Linked DNA regions of Homo sapiens: region 2 is linked to region 1. Evidence: promoter capture Hi-C in 16 types of primary human blood cells and fetal thymus (Javierre and others, 2016). All regions are on one chromosome and are shown on one strand. Each heading gives the region's core, a stretch centred on a gene start or on the middle of the fragment in contact. The rest is flanking DNA. Distances are from core to core; before and after follow the strand shown.

Region 1 (7,277 bases), core at 100-2,599:
AGTAGGAAGTTCAAAATGGGAAGGCTGTGGGTTCCTGCCCACACTGTCATCGAAACCTTTCTTGCTTAGAACTAGCTCCACATGCTGCCATAGGAATTCCCGAAGAGTGAAATCCACTAGCTGGCCTGAAGAACTGGAACTGCTGCTGTCAATGTGAAAGGAAAGTTGTTGTCGGCTGTGCTGCCTCATCACCTGGTATCGCCTAGGCCCAGAAAGGGGTGCAGGCACCAGCAAAGATTCCGGGTCCTTCACAGTACAATGACTCCTAAGTTGGTCCAGCAACATACCTACTGGGTCCTCCTCCTGGCTTCCCGGTACTATGTACACGAAAGCTTGGTTGGCAGGCACAGTAAAGAGGCAGTTGATGCTCTGATTAGTCAAGACACGACTCTTCCGGAAGATTCTATAGATCTGGTCCTCCAGGGCATGCTGCAGCCTCCTTTTGGGAGAATGTTTCTTGGGCTTGTCTGGATGAGCTGGGTCTTGGTTCCGAGGAGGTTCTACCTTGAGGGCTCCATTGAGTTGAAAGAGGAAAAGGAGTCTAGGTGGGCAAGGTCGGCAGTTTAGCTTCCAGTCTTTGCCAACTGGACAATCCTTAATGGCTGTTTTAAGGAGCGGCAGGACCTTCTGTCTCAGCCCATCCAGGGCTCTGAATACTCGATCATAAGTGATATCAAAGGAACAAGTGGGATGGACCAGAAGCAAGATATGACAGACAGAGAATAGGTAAAGGAGACTGAGGCACTGCAGCTTCTCTTGATGCTTCCAGAACTCGTGTGCTTCTGCATGAGGTAAAGAGAGTCCACCTCCAGCTTCCCCGCTCTGAAGAGCCCGACAAGCCCGGAGAAGCTGTGAATTGTCACAGATGGAGGTGAGGAGAAGATACAGAACTTTGCTTTCCTGACTGTAGTAGGCCTGCAGAAGGCTGTAGTCCTGGGAGCCTGCCTCAGTTCGGTTACCTTCCGCGACAGCTCCACTTCCCCGAACTGAACCCCCGGCTGCAGCCCCAGGGTCCTCGGCTCCACCGGCCTCACCCACGGCGCCAGCCTCAGTTCTGATTCCAGGTCCTGGATCCCCAGGATCTTGGTGGCGAAAGAGAGGAAAGACCTGTCGGTCGCACACCGTATTCACAAGAGAGAACTTCTCGGAATTCAGGCGTAGAGCCGTCTTGCCGAAGATTCCCACAACGCAGATCTCATCCTCCCGCCATGGAGGCTCCGGTCCGCCAGCCGCGCTCCCTCCGCCCTCAGTAGGGGACCCTCCGGGACTTTCAGAGCCCATCCAGGCTGATGCTCCCATTAGAAGGTCTCGCAAGCTCACGGGACCAGCCATAGTGCAGAGCGTTCTCTAGAGTCCTTCCGGTCCGTTAGTAAAACCGACCGGCTTTCGTCCAATTTTGAAATCCTTCCTCCGCTTCTTCAGTTCCTGCTTTCCCGTCACTTGAGTTCCGCCTCCTCTTCTCCTCTCCTAGTTTGTTTCCTCAACTGTAGGAATTGAGATATCAAAAACAAAAAACAAAAAAACAAAACAAAACTGGGACTACTGCGGTGGCTCACGCCTGTAATCCTAGCACTTTGGGAGGCCAAGGCGGGCGGATCACCTGAAGTCAGGAGTTCGAGACCAGGCTGGCCAACATGGTGAAACCCCATCTCTACTAAAAATACGAAAATTAGCCGGGCGTGGTGGCGGGCGCCTGTAATCCCAGCTACTCGGGAGGCTGAGGCAGGACAATCGCTTGAACCCGGGAGGCGGAAGTTGCAGTGAACCGAGATCACACCATTGCACTCCAGCCTGGGCAACAAGAGCGAAAACCGTCTAAAAAAAAAAAAAAAAAAAAAAAAAAAAGCAAAAATTAGGCGTGGTGGCGCATACCTGTAGTTCCAGCTGCTCAGGAGGCTGAGGCAGGAGAATTGCTCGAACCAGGAGGTGGAGGTTGCAGTGAGCCGAGATCACCCCGCTGCACTCCAGCCTGGGCGACAGAGTGAGACTCCGTCTCAAAAAAAAAAAAAATTGCGAAATATCTTTGTATGTAAATTATAACTTGCAGAACCTCTCTAACTAGAAGGCATATTGACAAATAGCTGCCAGGATAAAACTTACAACCAGATTTAAATGTATAATTATAACGTTTATTATTCTGGGGTTTTGTAAAAAATAAAAATCTTTGAATCTAAAAAAATTATCTATAGCACTATACAATAACATGACTGAATCTTTAAAATAAATGTTGATTGAAAGAAATCAGAAACAAAAGTGTATATACCCTATAATTCTATTTTTTTTTTTTTTTTTTTTTTTTTTTGGAGATGCAGTCTTGCTCTGTGGCCAGGCTAGAGTTCAGTGGCGCGATCTCGACTCACTGCAACCTCCGGCTCCCCGGTGCAAGTGATTCTCTTGCCTCAGCCTCCCAAGTAGCTGGGATTACAGGTGCGTGAGACCACACCCAGCTAACTTTTGTATTTTTAATAGAGACAGGATTTCACCATGTTGGCCAGGATAGTCTCAATCTCCTGATCTCATGATCTGCCCGCCTCGGCCTCCCAAAGTGGTGGGATTACAGGCGAGAGCCACTGCGCCAGGCCTGATTTTATTTCTATAGAGTTCAAAAGCAAGCAAAATAAACCATTGCATTTAGGGGTGTGTTCTTACTAAAAGCAAGGAAATATTTATTGTACCAAGTAGGTCAGTGATTACTTAGTGAGGGAAGGGATTATGATATAATATATATATTATATATATACATAATAATATATATTACACATATACATAATAATATATATTATATATATACATAATAATATATATTATATATATTTTGAGACAGAGTCTTGCTCTGTTGCCCAGAGTGGAGTACAGTGGTGCAATCTAAGCTCACTGCAAACTCCACCTCCCAGGTTCAAGTGATTCTACTGCCTCAGCCTCCCAAGGAGCTGGGATTACAGGTGCACCACCATGGGCGGCTAATTTTTGTATTTTTAGTAGAGATGGTGTTTCACCATGTTGGCCAGGCTGGTCTCGAACTCCCGACCTCACATCATCCACCCACCTCGGCCTCCCAAAGTGCTGGGATTACAGGTGTCAGCCACCACACCTCGCCTCCGGCCTAAAATTTTTTTTTTTTTTTTTTGTGAGACAGAGTCTCACTCTGTCACCCAGGCTGAAGTGCAGTGGTGCTATCTGGGATCACGGCAACCTCCATCTCCTATTCCCTGTCTCCGTCTCCTCAAGCAATTCTTCTGCCTCAGCCTCCCAAGTAGCTGGGATTACAAGCACGTACCACCACGCCCACCTAAACTTGTATTTTTAGTAGAGATGGGGTTTCCCCACGTTAGCCAGGCTGGTCTCGAACTTCCAACCCCAGGTGATCTGCCCACCCCGGCCTCCCAAAGTGCTGGGATTATAGGTTTGAGCCATCACGCTCGGCATTGATTTTTTAATTCATATATTTTCTATACTTACTATATACTTTTTTGTTTTTTTGAGACAGAGTCTCACTCTGTTGCCCAGGCTGGAGTGCAGTGGCGTGATCTCAGCTCCCTGCAAGCTCTGCCTCCCGGGTTCATGCCATTCTCCTGCCTCAGCCTCCCAAGTAGCTGGGACTACAGGCGCCTGCCACCACGCCCGGCTAATTTTTTGTATTTTTAGTAGAGACCAGGTTTCACCGTGTTAGCCAGGATGGTCTTGATCTTCTGACCTCATGATCCACCTGCCTTGGGCTCCCAAAGTGCTGGGATTACAGGCGTGAGCCACTGCGCCCGGCCAATATATACTTTTCTATAGGTATTATTATTTCTAGTTAAAAAAAAAGGTTAAAAAGGGAAAAACCAAAACTTTTATTAATCTTTATTTAAAGATGCAAGGTAGAACACATTTTAACACTGTACAATGGCAGTAGCAGCTTTGCAAATGTTTATCTATATGGACTTTTTTTTCCTGCCTGGCTTCGTTATATAGCAAAGCATTTTTCTTTTTTCTTTCTTTTTTTTTTTTTTTTTTTTTTGAGACAGCATCTTGCTCTGTCACCCAGCAGGCTGGAGTGCAGGTGGTATGAACACTGCTCGCTGGAGCCTCAACCTCCTGGACTCAAGTGATTCTCCCACCTCAGTCTCCCGAGTAGCTGGGACTACAGGCACATGCCACCATGCCCGGCTAATTTTTTGTTTTTTGTAGAGACAGGGTCTTGCAATGTTGCCCATACTGGTTTCAAACTCTTGGCCTCAAGTGATCCTCCCACCTCAGCCTCCCAAAGTGCTGGGATTACAGGTGTGAGCCACTGTGCCTGGCCCCCAAGCCTATAATTTTTTAATTTATATATTTTTCTATACTTAACATATACTTTTTTTTTTTTTGAGACAGTTTCGCTCTTGTTGCTCAAGCTGGAGTACAATGGGGCGATCTCGGCTCACTGCAACCTTTGCCTCCCAGGTTCAAGCCATTCTGGCTCAGCCTTCCCAGTAGCTGGGATTACAGGTGTCTGCCACTATGCCCGGCTAATTTTTGTATTTTTAGTAGAGACAGGGTTTCACCATGTTGGCCAGACTGGTCTCGAACTCTTGACCTCAGGTGATCTGCCTGCCTCGGCCTCCCAAAGTGCTGGGATTATAGGCATGAGCCACCGCACCCGGCCAACATTTACTTTTCTATAGGTATTATATTTCTAGTTTAAAAAGAAGGTTAGAAAGAGAAAAACCAAAACTTTTATTAATCTTTATTTTAAAACATAACCAGATGCACCTTGGTTGTTTACATTCTCTGGTTGCCATTCAGTCTCAAAGTAAACACTGGGAGCATATGATAAATCGTAGTTTAAGGAAGCCATAGCACTTACAGAGTTCTCAAATGGTTACAATATAAAATCTGTCATAAAAATCAGTAAAAGATGCAAGGTAGAACACATTTTAACACTGGTACAATGGCAGTAGCAGCTTTGCAAATGTTTGTCTATATGATTTCCACAGGACTTTTTTTTTTTGCCTGGCCTCATTATGTAGCAAAGCATTTTTTCTTTTCTTTTTGAGATGGAGTCTTGCTCTGTTACCCAGCAGGCTGGAGTGCAGTGGTATAAACACAGCTCACTGCAGCCTCAACCTCCCGGGCTCAAGTGATTCTTCCACCTCAGTCTCCTGAGTAGCTGGGACTACAGGCACACATCACCGCTCCCGGCTAATTTTTCGTTTTTTGTAGAGTTGGGGTCTTGCAGTGTTGCCCAGGCTTGTTTTGAACTCTTGGCCTCAAGCGAACCTCCTGCCTTAGCCTCCCAAAGTGCTAGGATTATAGGTGTGAGCCACTGCACTGGGCCATAAAGCATTTTTCTTTTTCTTTCTTTTTTTTTTGAGACAAGGTCTCACTCTGTTGCCCAGACTGTAGTGCAGTAGTGTGATCTCAGCTCACTGCAACCTCCACTTCCATCGTTCAAGTGATTCTCACGCCTCAGTCTTCTGAGAAGCTGAGACTATAGGCACATGCCACCACACCCAGATAATTTTTATATATTTTTTTTGGTAGAGACGGGGTTTCACCATGTTGGCCAGGCTGGTCTCAAACTCCTGACCTCAAGTGATACACCCACCTCGGCCTCCCAAAGTGCTGGGATTACAGGTGTGAGCCACTGTGCCTGGCCCCCAAGCCTATAATTTTTTAATTTATATATTTTTCTATACTTAACATATACTTTTTTTTTTTTTTTGAGACAGTTTCGCTCTTGTTGCTCAAGCTGGAGTGCAATGGGGCGATCTCGGCTCACTGCAACCTCTGCCTCCCAGGTTCAAGCCATTCTGGCTCAGCCTTCCCAGTAGCTGGGATTACAGGTGTCTGCCACTATGCCCGGCTAATTTTTGTATTTTTAGTAGAGACAGGGTTTCACCATGTTGGCCAGACTGGTCTCGAACTCTTGACCTCAGGTGATCTGCCTGCCTCGGCCTCCCAAAGTGCTGGGATTATAGGCATGAGCCACCGCACCCGGCCAACATTTACTTTTCTATAGGTATTATATTTCTAGTTTAAAAAGAAGGTTAGAAAGAGAAAAACCAAAACTTTTATTAATCTTTATTTTAAAACATAACCAGATGCACCTTGGTTGTTTACATTCTCTGGTTGCCATTCAGTCTCAAAGTAAACACCGGGAGCATATGATAAATCGTAGTTTAAGGAAGCCATAGCACTTACAGAGTTCTCGAATGGTTACAATATAAAATCTGTCATAAAAATCAGTAAAAGATGCAAGGTAGAACACAGTTTAACACTGGTACAATGGCAGTAGCAGCTTTGCAAATGTTTGTCTATATGATTTCCACAGGACTTTTTTTTTTTTGCCTGGCCTCATTATGTAGCAAAGCATTTTTTCTTTTCTTTTTGAGATGGAGTCTTGCTCTGTTACCCAGCAGGCTGGAGTGCAGTGGTATAAACACAGCTCACTGCAGCCTCAACCTCCCAGGCTCAAGTGATTCTCCCACCTCAGTCTCCTGAGTAGCTGGGACTACAGGCACACATCACCGCTCCCGGCTAATTTTTCGTTTTTTGTAGAGTTGGGGTCTTGCAATGTTGCCCAGGCTTGTTTTGAACTCTTGGCCTCAAGCAATCCTCCTGCCTTAGCCTCCCAAAGTGCTAGGATTATAGGTGTGAGCCACTGCACTGGGCCATAAAGCATTTTTTCTTTCTTTCTTTCTTTTTTTTTTTTTTGACACAGGGTCTCACTCTGTTGTCCAGACTGGAGTGGAGTGGTGTGATCTTGGCTCACTGCAACCTTCACCTCCAGGATGCACATAATTCTCGTGCTTTAGCTTCCTGAGTAGCTGGGGCTATAGGCACATGCCACCACGCCTGGATAATTTTTATTTTTATTTTTGGTAGAGACGGGGTTTCACCATGTTGGCCAGGCTGGTCTCAAACGTCTGACCTCAAGTGTTTTGCCCGCCTCAGCCTCCCAAAGTGCTGGGATTACAGGCGTGAGCCACTGTGCCAGGCCTTTTTTTTTTTTTTTTTTTTTTTTGAGGCAGGGTCTGGCTCTGTTGCCCAGGATGGAATACAGTGGCACAATCTCAGCTCACTGCAACCTCTACCTCCGGGGCCCAAACCATCCTCCCACCTCAGCCTCACAAGTAGCTGGGACTACAGGCACACAACATCACACCTGGCTAATTTTTTTGATTTTTGGTAGAGACGGAGTTTTCATCATGTTGCCCAGGCTGGTCTCAAACTCCTGAGCTCAAGTCATCCACCTGCCTTGGCCTCCTAAAGTCCTGGGATTACAGGCGTGAGCCATGGTGCCCGGCCCTAGC
Region 2 (7,468 bases), core at 2,157-4,656, 530 kb after region 1:
TGACTTTTCTTCTGTCTTTATATCTTTTTGTGGACCTCCAGAGTCCTTCTGTTTTTTTTCTTTTCTTGGAGACGGCGTTTCGCTCTTGTAGCCCAGGCTGGAGTACAATGGCGCAATCTCAGCTCACAGCAACCTCAGCCTCAAGGGTTCAAGGGATTCTCCTGCCTCAGCCTCTTGAGTAGCTGGGATTACAGGCACACGCCACCACGCCTTGCTAATGTTTGTATTTTTAGTAGAGACGGGGTTTCACCATGTTGGCCAGGCTGGTCTCGCACTCCTAACCTCAGGTGATTTACCTGCCTCGGCCTCCCAAAGTGCTGGGATTACAGGTGTGAGCCACGGCGCCTGGCTCCAGTGTCCTTCTCTTTTATTATTATTATTATTATTATTATTATTATTATTATACTTTAAGTTCTAGGGTACATGTGCACAACGTGCAGGTTTGTTACATATGTATACATGTGCCATGTTGGTTTGCTGCACCCATTAACTCGTCATTTACATTAGGTATGTCTCCTAATGCTATCCCTCCCCGTTTCCCCCATCCTATGACAGACCCTGGTGTATGATGTTCCCCACCCCGTGTTCAAGTGTTCTCATTGTTCAATTCCCACCTATGAGTGAGAACATACGGTGTTTGGTTTTCTGTCCTTGCAAAGTTTGCTCAGAATGATGGTTTCCAGCTTCATCCATGTCCCTACAAAGGACATGAACTCATCCTTTTTTATGGCTGCATAGTGTTCCGTGGTGTATATGTGCCACGTTTTCTTAATCCATTCTATCATTGATGGACATTTGGGTTGGTTCCAAGTCTTTGCTATTGTGAATAGTGCTGCAATAAGCATACACGTGCATGTGTCTTTATAGTAGCATGATTTATAATCCTTTGGGTATATACCCAGTAATGGGATTGCTGGATCAAATGGTATTTCTAGTTCTAGATCCTTGAGGAATCGCCACACTGTCTTCCAGTGTCCTTCCCTTAAGGACCCTGTGATTACATTAGGCCCATCTGGATAAGCTTTTCATCTTAAATCAATCACATCTAAAAACTTCCCTTTTTTTTCCCCCTTGAGTTGGAGTCTCGCTCTGTCGCCCAGGCTGGAGTGCAGTGGCACCATATCTGCTCACTGCAACCTCTGCCTACCAGGTTCAAGCAATTCTCCTGCCTCAGCCTCCCGAATAGCTGGGCTTACAGGCACCCGCCACCATGCCAGGCTAATTTTTGTATTTTTAGTAGAGATGGGGTTTCACCATGTTGGCCAGGCTGGTCTTGAACTCCTGACCTCGTGATCTGCCTGCCTTGGCCTCCCAAAGTGTTGGGATTACAGGCGTGAGCCACCGTGCCCAGCCATTTCTGGCTCTTAAACTTTGGAAAAGTCTTTATCTTGTAAGTAGCAGGCTAGAACTTGTGCAAGAAGAGTGACCCTATGTGAAGAGTGTTTTGAATCTGAGGGTGAGATGTCAGGCAACAACCATGCCTTCCACTTTACCGGGCAGGGAAGATACCCTGACCACAAAGGTGGTTTTCCCAGGGCAAGGTTCACTCATTGCATTCTGTGTTTGCTGGCCCCTGTGATTTCCCCAAATGTGGGATACTCAACTGCATAATTTGTGGTAGTGGGCGACTGTGTTCACACTTTCCCCTGTGTTATTCTTTGTCAAATGGGAAGTAGCCAATGTGATTGTCTGTGGCCGTGTTTGGCTTCTCCTTGCTTGTTTCTTGTGAACTGTGTCTTTAAATTTCCATGGAAGTGAGAAGCTGTACTACTATTTAGTTTGTGATAGTAACAGGCTTCCTTGGTGTTTTTTCTTGGCTGTGTTCCCTTAATCCAGCATAAACTTTGTACACAATGAGTACCACATATATGTTGGCTGAGTCAAATGAACTGGAAATCAAACTCAGGAAGGATTTCCTTTAAGCATTTTTATTTTTAGAGACAGGGTCTTGCTCTTGTCTCCCAGACTGGAGTACAGTGGTGCTCAATCATGGCTCAAAGCAGCCTTGACCTCCTGGACTCAGTCCTTCTGCCTCAGCCTTCCAAGTAGCTGTACAGGCATGTGCCACCACGGCTGGCTAATTTTTTTTTTTTTTTTTTTTTTGAGACGGAGTTTCCCTCTTGTTGCCCAGGCTGGAGTGCAATGGTTTGATCTCGGCTCCCAGCACCCTCCACCTCCTGAGTTCAAGCGATTCTCCTGCCTCAGCCTCCTGAGTAGCTGGGATTACAGGCACCCGCCACAACACCTGGCTACTTTTTTGTATTTTTTAGTAGAGACGGGGTTTCGCCATGCTGGCCAGACTGGCCTCAGGTGATCTGCCTGCCTCGTCCTCCCAAAGTACTGGGATTACAGGCGTGAGCCACCCCACCTGGTCAGCTGGCTAATTTTAAAAGAACTTTTTGTAGCATAGGGTCTCGCTATGTTGCCCAGGCTGGTCTCGAACTCTTGGCCTCAAGTGATCCTCCCACCTCGGCCTCTCAAGGTGCTGGGATTACAAAAATGAGTACCATACCTGGCCCCTAAAGGATTTTAACCTGCTCTTAACAATGACTATAGAATTGAAATTCATTCATTGCATTCTAAAATGACTACTTTGAATGATCACCTTTAGGTTCTGACATAGTAGTTTGTTGGTTTTGTTTTGTTTTGTTTTCTTTTGTTTGAGATGGAGTTTCACTCTTATTGCTCAGTCTGGAGTGCAATGGCATGATCTTGGCTCACTGCAACCTCTGCCTCCCAGGTTCAAGTGATTCTCTTGCCTCAGCCTCCCGAGTAGCTGAGATTACAGACGCCTGCCACCACGCCTGGGTTTTTTTGTGTTTTTTTTTGTTTTTTTGGTTTTTTTTGAGATGGATTTTCTCTCTTGTTGCCCAAGCTGGAGTGCAATGCTGTGATCTTGGCTTACTGCAACCTCTGCCCCCAGGGTTCAAGTGATTCTCCTGCCTCAACCTCCTGAGTAGCTGGGATTACAGGCACCTGCCACCACGCCTGGCTAATTTTCTTATTTTTAGTAGAGATGGGGTTTCACCATTTTGGCCAGGCTGGGCTTGAACTCCTGATCTCAGGTGATCTGCCTGCGTCAGCCTTCCAAAGTGCTGGGATCACAGGCGTGAGCAACTGCACCTGGCCGACTAATTTTTATGTTTTAGTAGAGAGGGTTTCACCATGTTGGTCAGGCTGGTCTCGAACTCGTGACTTCAGGTGATCCATTAACCTCAGCCTCCCAACGTGCTGGGATATACATGTGTGAGCCACGGCACCTGGCCCATAGTAGTTTTAAAAAGGGAAAAGCTTACATACTACTATGATATATCAATTTAAAAATGCAAAAAGTCCAGACTCAGTGGCTCGTGCTTGTAATCACCGTACCTTTGGAGGCCCAGGCGACAGAACAAGAACCTGTCTCTAAAAATTAAAAACATGTTTAAAGGAAATCCTTTTGGAAATGCTTCCTGAGTTTGATTTCCAGTTCATTCAATTCAGCCAATATATAATGGGGTACTTATTGTAAACAAAGCTTATTCTGGGTGAGGGGAATGCAGATACCCTTGGAACATAGTCCTTGTCATAATCAGGAGTCTGTCTGGGGAAGGGAGATGGGGAAACCATCTGTTAATATTATACCATACAATTCACCCATTTAAAAGATAGTTTGATTTTTAGAAAGAGCCAGAGATTGTCTGGAGACTTTTTTATGTGAACATAACCCCAATATTGTATTGTCTTCATTATAAAACAAAAGATGACACTTAGAACTGGATATCATTTGGCCCTTTCTCTTCTCATCTCCTCTCACTTCAAAATGCTTACATCTCTTAATACCCAGCATTCTCTTTGTTCTGCAGTTGGGCTCAACACACTCAAGGCTTGGCACAATCTTCTTTGTAGTTTTAGCTTTTTTCGGGAAAATCAACTAGTTTGCCCACCCATAGCCAGATACTTGTCATTTTGATTCTAGCAATCATAGTGAGGGTGAAGTGGTATTTCATGGTGATTTTGATTTGTATTACCCTGATGGCTAAGAATATTGAACATATTTTCGTGTGCTTATTGGCTATTTGCATCTTTTTTTTTTTTTGGAGATGGTTTCCCTGTGTCATCCAGGCTGGAGTGCAATGGCACAATGTCAGCTCACTGCAACTTCCACCTCCCAGGCTCAAGTGATTCTCATGCCTCAGCCTCCCAAGAAGCTGGGGTTATAGGCATGTGCTACCATGCCCAGCTAATTTTTGTGTTTTTTGTAGAGATGGGGTTTCGTCATGTTGGCCAGGCTGGTCTCAAACTCCTGGCTTCAAGTGATGCACCCCCCCTCAGCCTCCCACAGTGCTGGGATTACAGGTGTGAGCCACCGTGCCCGGCCTACCTGCCTTTTTTTTTTTTTTTCCAAAGGCCTCATCGAAGATAAATCTTTTTTTTTTTTTAACCACTTTATTGAAGGATAATTGACATACTATACTTGTGCTTTTGATGTCATATGTAAGAAATCATTCCCTAATTGGAGGTCAGGAAGATTTACATCTATGTTTTCTTCTTAGTGTTTCTATTCGTTTTTTGAGATGGATTCTCACTCTGTCACCCAGGCTGGAGTGCAGGGGCAGGATCTCGGCTCACTGCAACCTCCGCCTCCCAGGTTCAAGCGATTCTTGTGCCTCTCCGTCTCGAGTAGCTGGGATTACAGGCCTGAGCCACCATGCTCAGCTAATTTTTGTATTTTTAGTAGAGACGGGGTTTCGCCACGTTGGCCAGGCTGGTTGTGAACTCCTGACCTCAAGTGATCTGTCCACCTTGGCCTCCTGTAGTGCTAGGATTACAGGCGTGAGCCACTGCGCCTGGCCGGACTTTCATCATAAATAAGTTATTCTCACTCCTGTGAAAAGGATGTGGGTTCAATAGGATTAGTTTGTGGTTCTCAATTCTGTCAAATCAAGGGTTTCCTTTTTTTTTTTTGAGACAGAGTCTTGCTCTGTCGCCCAGGCTGGAGTGCAGTGGTGCGATCTCGGCTCACTGCAACCTCCACCTCCCTGGTTCAAGCAATTCCCCTGCCTTAGCCTCCCGAGTAGCTGGGATTATAGGCGCATGCCACCACACCCAGCTAAATTTTTTGTAGTTTTAGTAGAGATGGGGTTTCACCATGTTGGCCAGACTGGTCTTGAACTCCTGATCTCAGGCAATCTGCCCGCCTTGGCCTCCCAAAGTGCCAGGATTACAGGTGGGAGACACCGCACCCGGCCCAGGGTTTCCTTTTATAAGAACTAGTAACATTCCATTTACTACCTTGAAGATGTTTGTAGAAAATATAAACTACATATAGTTACCCCACAGATAATATGTCCTAACTATAATATGAAGGAGAGAAGCCACGTGGGGTGGCTCACGTCTATAATCCCAGGACTTTGGGAGGGTGGGAGGATCGCCTGAGCCAAGAAGTTTGAGACCAAGCTGGGCAACATGGCTTAACCCCAACTGTAGAAAAACAAAAAAAAGATTGAAAAAATTAGCTGGGCATGGTGGTGCATGCCTGTGGTCCCAGCTACTCGGGAGGGTGAGGTGGGAGGATCACCTGAGCCCAAGAGGTTGAGGATGCAGTGAGCTGAAATTGCGTGACTGCATTCCAACCAGCCTGGGTTACAGAACAAGACCCTGTCTCAAAAACAAAACAATACAAATATAAAGGAGAGAGAAAAATAAGTTACAATACAATTATTTATTTATTTATTTATTTATTTATTTATTTATTTTTGAGATGGAGTCTCACTCTGTCGTGTAGGCTGGAGTGCAGTGGCGTGATCTCGGCTCACTGCAACCTTTGCCTCCTGGGTTCAACCGATTTTCCTGCCTCAGCCTCCTGAGTAGCTGGGACTACAGGTGTGCACCACTACGCCTGGCTAATTTTTTATATTTGTTATTTTTTTTTTATGGTTTCGCCATATTGGCCAGGCTGGTCTTGAACTCCTGACCTTATAATCCACCCACCTCGGCCTTCCAAAGTGCTGGGAATACAGGCATAAGCTACCGCGCCCTGCCCTACAATACAATATTTTAATATGTAAAGGCTTGGCATGACTACCCAGGGAAACAAAAACATCCCCTCAGAGTTTCAAAATTTCCCTTTGGGAGTGGCTCCACTGTCATGGAGAACCACTCAATTGTAAGAAATTTTTTTTAAAAAAAGTATGTATAAAAGGAATGCCGGCTGAGCGTGGTGGCTCATGCCTGTAATCCCAGCACTTTGGGAGTTCGAGGCTAGCAGATCACTTGAGGTCAGGAGTTCAAGACCAGCCTGGCCAACATGGAGAAACCCCATCTCTACTAAAAATACAAAAATTAGTCAGGCATGGTGGCACGCATCTGTAATCCCAGCTACTCAGGAGGCTGAAGCAGGAGAATCGCTTGAACCCAGGAGGCAAAGGTTGCAGTAAGCCGAGATCACACCATTGCACTCCAGCCCGGGTGACAGAGCGAGACTCCATCTCAAAACAAACAAAGAAAAAAAGGAATGCCGACTGGGTATGGTGGCTCACAGTTGTAATCCCAGCACTTTGGGTGGCCAAGGAGTTCGAGGCCAGCCTGGCCAACATGGTGAAACCCCGTCTCTACTAAAAATACAAAAAATAAAAAAACATTAGCTGGGCCTGGTGGCGCGTGCCTATAATCCCAGCTACTCGGGAGGCTGAGGCAAGAGAATCATTTGAACCTGGGAGGCAGAGGTTGCAGCAAGCTGAGATTGCACCTCTGCACTGCAGCCTGGGTGATAGAGCGAGACTCTGTCTCAAAAAAAGGAATGCCAAGTAGCAGTGAGGATGTAGTTGCAGTTTGCATAAATTTGGAGTATTTGGAGTAAGAGTGCTGGAAGATTCTGCAACTTTTTTTCTCCAGCAGTGCTGGGGAAATGGGAGTAGAGGAGATGACTGTTGATTGGCTCTAGGACCAGTTAGAGCAGGGGATTCCAACCCCCTGGAAGGAGCATGGTACCAGTTGGTGGCCTGTTAGGAACTAGGCCGCACAGCAGGAGGTGATGTCATTACTGCCTGAGCACCTCCTCCTGTTAGATCAGCAGCCACATTAGATTCTCATAGGAGCGTGAAACCTATTGTGAACTGAGCATGCCAGGGATCTAGGTTGCACACTCCTTATGAGAACCTAACTAATGCCTGATGAGCTGAGGTGGAACAGTTTCATCCTGAAACCATTCCCACCCACCCCCTGTTATCCGTGGAGAAATGGAAAATTGTCTTCCATGAAACTGGTCCCTGGTGCCAAAAAGTTTGGGAGCCTCTAAGATAGAGGAAATACGCTGTGCTGCAGCATGAAGTAGGTGAGAGATGGGGCTAGGGGCCTAGTGAGTGAAATGGCGTGGAAAGTCTAAAGGATTAGATGAATTGAGGGATGAGCTTCTCTGGCAGTGAGTAGACCTGAGGTCCAGGGAAGGCTTTTGTAAGCTCAAAACATGTAAAATGGTGAGAAAATA

What was found. The method cuts DNA at HindIII sites, captures the fragments that hold promoters and counts their contacts. A CHiCAGO score of 5 or more calls a contact.
Region 2: a contact is called between a fragment that was not itself captured here and the fragment with the promoter of SMG8 in region 1, in 1 of 17 cell types (M2 macrophages). The highest score is 6.0, in M2 macrophages.

Annotation. Positions count from the first base shown.
Region 1 is chr17:59,204,107-59,211,383 of GRCh38, reverse strand. It overlaps SMG8 (SMG8 nonsense mediated mRNA decay factor), which reads right to left and starts at 1,349. Exons shown (of 4, transcript NM_018149.7): 1 at 1-1,349. The coding sequence starts at 1,332. PRR11 (proline rich 11) reads right to left here. Exons shown (of 10, transcript NM_018304.4): 10 at 4,675-7,277. RefSeq lists an enhancer at 1,471-1,540. The HindIII fragment of the contact is 12,029 bases long and covers 335-7,277 here.
Region 2 is chr17:58,671,755-58,679,222 of GRCh38, reverse strand. The region is part of intron 1 of TEX14 (testis expressed 14, intercellular bridge forming factor); the gene reads left to right. All of the region lies in intron 1 of IGBP1C (IGBP1 family member C), which reads left to right. It also overlaps the pseudogene RNU1-52P. Among named protein-coding and RNA genes, the nearest start is that of IGBP1C, 17 kb to the left of the region's middle. The HindIII fragment of the contact is 226 bases long and covers 3,294-3,519 here.